Regions from separate parts of the Homo sapiens genome. Here region 1 is linked to region 2. Evidence: promoter capture Hi-C in human tissues and cell types (Jung and others, 2019). All regions are on one chromosome and are shown on one strand. The core of a region is centred on a gene start or on the middle of the fragment in contact, and the rest is flanking DNA. Distances in the headings are between cores, read along the strand shown. Region 1 holds the start of FBXW12 (F-box and WD repeat domain containing 12). Region 2 holds the start of CAMP (cathelicidin antimicrobial peptide).

Region 1 (2,700 bases), core at 1-2,500, 150 kb before region 2:
TACTCACACTAACTTTCCTGTGTATATCTCACAACACAGCCACACAGGCCTTGGGACACAGCATGGGTGCGCAGTCAGATGATCTCCTCTCCCCTTCCCTCCTTGCCCTTTCCCTTCCCTTACCTCCACAGGTAATCACTGTCTGCAATCCTATTCCAATGCTATGGGAGAGAAAGGAAGAGACAAGCAGGCAATCAGTTACATCAGAGAGCAAGGGTAATCCTCTGCTATTATTTGTTCTGGGAGCTGGGCCCGCACAGGTTAATCAGATGGGATTCCAGCTCTCAAAGCACTCTCAGTGTGGGGAGATAAGGAAATGGTAACAACAGAGACCTATCACTGCTAATACAGGCACTGGGTATTCCCATGAATTCACAGGAAGAAGTGTTGATTTCCTAGGGCTTGAAATGGGAGCCTCAAGGACTGTTTAGTCAGCACAACTCCTGGATATCAGCTTGTCCTTTTCGTTTAACAGAATATGAGGCCCTCAGTATGAAGAATGCTAACCCCCAAAGCCTCAGTGTAACCCTCTGCTATTCTGCAAAGTGGTGCTCAAACTGGTCGAGAGAAGCAGCGGGCTTGGGGGGCAGTGGGAGGTGGAAGGCCTTTACCTTGTTCACCTGGGAAACCTGCAGCAAGCCGAACAGGTCCAGGAAAGAGAAGATTCGCTTCAAAGCTAAGTCAGGCAATCGGATCTCCATTTCATGCGGCCTGAACCCACATCCACTTTCCTTTCTCCTCTCCGGGCTGCTCTGAATTTATAGGCTTTGCCAAAGTCTGCAGCACTTGTAAAGATTTTCACCCATGCCCATCTGTGTGCGGTAGAAACAAGCTGCAGGTGTGCAGACTCCCGGGCTGACCTCCACCCCGGCCTCTCCCCTGGGGCCTGATCCACACAGCTGGCAGGCATCCCTACCTAAACCCACTTGTTAGTGCTGTTCATTGTTTAGAGGAGCTCAGCAACACCTGTGCGCTGTGAGCTGGAGGTGCAGAACCTGGGGCAGCCCCAGTTGCAGATGAAGTTGTCAGAACCCTTTAGGAAATGTCACCGAGTGCACTCACTTTGATCAGATCTGAGTGTCTCTATGACTCTATTTAAGTTCCAAACTCCTGGAATTGGAGTCTGCTTGCCCTGTGTCTGTGCCTACCTTGGGATCTTGAATCTGGTGAGTGGGGCTCATCTCTCAGCGCCAGCATGGCCTCTGGGTTTCTACCTTCTCGCATTTAACTTTGCAGTGGAGGAGAAAGAACGTGCCAAGCTGGCTTCTCCACAGAGGTCCGCCCAAAGGGAGCAGGCCTTGTCTGGGATGGCTCTCCCAGCTGGTGGCTTTCCCTGGGATGTGACGCTTTCCCACAGTTACAGATCTCCCAAGAACCTGACAACTCATTCTGGGATTTTCTAAAGACCGTGTCATAGCCTGGGTGTTTGTGTCCTCTCAAAATTCCTACGTTGAAATTCTAACCCTTGGTGTGATTGGAGGTGGGGGGCCTTTGGGAGGTAAGTGGGTCACAGGCAGAGTCCTTATGATGGGACCAGTGACCTTATAAAAGAGACCCCAGAACGCTCTCTAGCCCTGTTCATATCATGCGAGGACATGAGAAGGTGTCAGCTGCAACCTGGAAGAAGGCCCACACCAGAACCTGACCGTGCTGACAGGTGACTCTTGGACTTCTCTCCTCCAAAATTGTGAGAAATAAATTTGTTTGTAAGCCACCCAGTCTATGGTACTTTGCTGCAGCATAAGACAGGGGTCCCTCTGTGAGGCTCAGTGGCCAACCCTTCTTAAAACTGCTGCCTCCAGGCAGACACACGGGAGTGGTTGTCGGGAGTCCCATTTATGATACAGTAGTAAGAGAGAGGAAAAATACAAATTGACATGGTGAGGAAATAAAAAGGAAAAGCAAAGACCAAGAAGCACCTAGAGGGGCGTGGGGAAAGGCGAGTCAAGGGGTGTGTGGAGAGGAGTGAGAAAAATACAAGGGTAAAAGATTTGTATTCCATAAATAGGAAATAATGCAGAGAGAGCCAGAGCCGTGGAAGGACACAGGAAGACAGAAAGCTTGGAACGGACTCTATTGTAGAGGAACAGAATTAATGCAAAGATATAGAAGGCTGAGAAATAAAACACTTTAAAATATGACAAGGGAAGAGAAGAAACAGTAAAATAAAGGATATTTTAAAAGTATTAAAGCACAAATATTATAAAATACACAGATAGGAAATATAACTGTAAGTGGACTGAGACAGAGTAGGAATAAAATGGAAAAGAGGACAGATGAGAAAGAGGCAAACATAAGGAAACTGAAGCAAATTGCCGAATGAGTGAATGAATGAATTTGAAATAGAGGAACAGAGGCCAGGCACAGTGGCTCATGCCCGTAATCCCAGCACTTGGGGAGGCCGAGGCGGGTGGATCACCAGGTCAGGAGTTTGAGACCAGCTTGGCCAACATAGTGAAACCCTGTCTCTACTAAAAATACAACAAATTAGCTGGGCGTGGTGGCGGGTGCCTGTAATCCCAGCTACTTGGGAGGCTGAGGCAGGAGAATTGCTTGAAGCTGGGAGGTGGAGGTTGCAGTGAGCTGAGATTGCGCTACTGCACTCCAGCCTGGGCGACAGTGCGAGACTCCATCTCAACAACAACAACAAAAAAAATAGAGGAACAGGAAGGTGTGTTGGGGGGTGGTGGTGGCGGGGTG
Region 2 (2,700 bases), core at 156-2,655:
TGAGAATTTGCATATCTAACGAGTCCCCAGGAAGGGCTACACTTGGAGATCTACCGCTCTAAGGGATTCCAGAGCCGGCCCTGGAGATGGAACTCAGGTTTGGGGAAGAGCCCTGGGTAGGAGGGGCTTTCTCTGTCCTGGGTTGGGGGAGTAGTTAATTGACCCATTGGATGGTCCACACTCTATGCCCCCATCAGCCCCTGCATCCCAGAACAGCCCACTCACCTTATCACAACTGATGTCAAAGGAGCCCCTGGCCTGGTTGAGGGTCACTGTCCCCATACACCGCTTCACCAGCTGGAAAGGAGAAGCTCAAGGTCAAACTTGAAACCATTTGCCATGACCTCCCAGCCACATCCCAGTGGGAAATATTCCCCAGGTGCCCCCTGTTCAGCTCCTTGGGAGGCACCCACCAACACCCCCAGCCCCCAGCCTCACCCCGTCCTTCTTGAAGTCACAATCCTCTGGTGACTGCTGTGTCGTCCTGGGGCACACTGTCTCCTTCACTGTGAAGCTCACAGGCTTTGGCGTGTCTGGGTCCCCATCCTAGTCAGAGGAGGAAATGGGGAGGCCCATTCTTGTATTTTCTGATTTGTGTCCATGACCTCCCCACCAAGAGGGCAGGCTTTCCACAGTACCTGATGTGCGACGGGCACTGGGTGCTGGGCTTGGCACTGGGGCATTGAGGGGAGGAGGACTGAGCCATTCCTACCCTCCTAGGTGAACAGTGAGTAGGAGCAGACCTCAGATGAGCTCTAACAAGGAGCCCCTCCCACTCTGGGGTGGGGGCAAGGGAAGTCAGGGGGCTTCCTGGGGGACAAGACATGCCCACTGGAACCTAAAGTCTGGATAGAGTTCTTCCCTATGTGGGGTAACGTGGTACAGAAGAGACTTAAAGCAGAGGAGGTCACTGCCCAGAGCCAATGACCCCATTCTAGTGCCTGGAGCTCGCAGAAGTCCCAAAACCTGCGTGGGGTCGGGGTGAGGGTATCTCTGCCACAGCAGGAATTATAAGGCAGGAAGCTCTCGAGCTGGGAGGAGACACGAGCTCTAGAAGGTTCCCTGGAAAACACGGGACCACATTTAAAGGGGGAGATGCCCTCCTGGCAGGCAGTGCAGCAGGAGCAGAAGGAACAACACGTGGCCAAGCCCAGCCAGAGCAGAGCAGAATGTCCCCCAAAGCTCACCATCGTGGGCCTGGGGTCCAGGTCCAGGAGGCGGTAGAGGTTAGCATCCGAGGACCGCTGGTTGATGCCATCTATAGCACGAAGCACAGCTTCCTTGTAGCTGAGGACCTGGGCAATGATGGCCAGAGGCATCACCAGGCCCAGCAGCAGGAGCACCAGTGACCACCGCCCCAGGGAGTGGCCATCCCTTTGGGTCTTCATGGTCCCCATGTCTGCCTCCCTCTAGCCCACAGGAGCCTCCTTTATGCCCAGCCTGAGCCTGATGCAAAAGCCCAACCAGGAGCCTTCCTGATCCACCCATCCCTGGCTGCCTGCCAGGGTGTGGGCTGGGGTTTGCTTTAGCCCCTGGCTATTGCTTCACAGGACTTGCTGGGCAGTGAGTGAGGCCTTCCTTGTGTGCAAGATGAGGAAGTGGTTTCTTCATCTCTGACAACCTCCCAGACCTGACCGGAGATTGTCATAGCCAGGGGTGCTCAAGAGCGTTAAATCCCTCCAGAGAGGAAGAGAGCCAGGTGCCTATTCTACATCCTTCTACTCCTCAGGAGTCAGTATGATGGACTGCTAAATCTCCAGCTCTAGGCATTGCCTGGCACCCTGTAGGCATCGATTAAGAATTGATGAATGAGGCAGGGCACGGTGGCTCACGCCTATAATCCCAGCACTTTGGGAGGCCAAGGTGGGCGGATCACCTGAGATAAGGAGTTCGAGACAAGCTTGGCCAACATGGTGAAACCCCATCTCTACTAAAAATATGAAAATTAGCCACGCATGATGGCTCACACCTGTAGTCCCAGCTACAAGCTGAGGCATGAGAATCACTTGAACCCATTGAACCCGGGAAGCAGAAGTTGCAGTTAGCTGAGATCATGCCACTGCACTCCAGCCTGGGTAACAGAGTGAGACTCAGTATGAAAAAAAAAAAAAAGAACTGGTAAATGAAGACAGTAGCCACCCCCAACCTAGAGACTCACTCTTGCAAGGGACAAGTTGCCCTTTCAGTTCAAGGCCATACCACATGCTCTCTGGACCCAGCCGTCAGCCAGACGAAGGCTCTGCTCCATCTATCCCCTTCTGCATCCTTCTTCACTGTTTTTTTCAGTCTCAAAATGTTCCCAAGCCCCTCCAGACATGGCCTTTCACCATGGCTTCTCCCAAGCCAAGTCTTAGGAAAGGTTGTCTACGCTTCTTGACCCCATCTTTTCACTCTTCTTCATGCTGAAGGCCACTGAAGGCTGGCCAACCCACCCTTGGTCCATGGCCACCCTCAAGCCTGGTCTTTGTCTGCACAGGCACTGGTGAGCCTTCCTTCTTGCTGCCCCGGTCTCCCCTGATGCCACTCTCCTGCTGTCCCTCCTGCCTCCCTGGTGGCTCCTTCTTGGTCTCCCCTAAGGGCTGTCTTCTTAATATTGAGAGCGTGTGGGGTCACCTCCTGGGCTGCTTCTCTTCCCTGGCCTCGGGTTTCCCTGGGGACGCCCTCTCCCAGGACACCAGTTATAATAGGCAGACACCACCC

What was found. Contacts are between HindIII fragments. The study calls those that stand out against the background at their distance.
Region 1: a contact is called between the fragment with the promoter of FBXW12 here and the fragment with the promoter of CAMP in region 2, in 2 of the 25 tissues and cell types used here (IMR-90 fibroblasts and mesenchymal stem cells).

What each region holds. Positions count from the first base shown.
Region 1 is chr3:48,370,769-48,373,468 of GRCh38, reverse strand. It overlaps FBXW12 (F-box and WD repeat domain containing 12), which reads right to left and starts at 1,250. Exons shown (of 11, transcript NM_207102.2): 1 at 1,149-1,250; 2 at 612-785; 3 at 124-161. The coding sequence starts at 701. The HindIII fragment of the contact is 16,322 bases long and covers 1-2,700 here.
Region 2 is chr3:48,222,200-48,224,899 of GRCh38, reverse strand. It overlaps CAMP (cathelicidin antimicrobial peptide), which reads right to left and starts at 1,405. Exons shown (of 4, transcript NM_004345.5): 1 at 1,188-1,405; 2 at 439-546; 3 at 226-297. The coding sequence starts at 1,388. RefSeq lists a silencer at 1,427-1,721 and enhancers at 1,731-1,780, 1,791-1,920, 1,941-2,060. The HindIII fragment of the contact is 5,660 bases long and covers 1-2,560 here.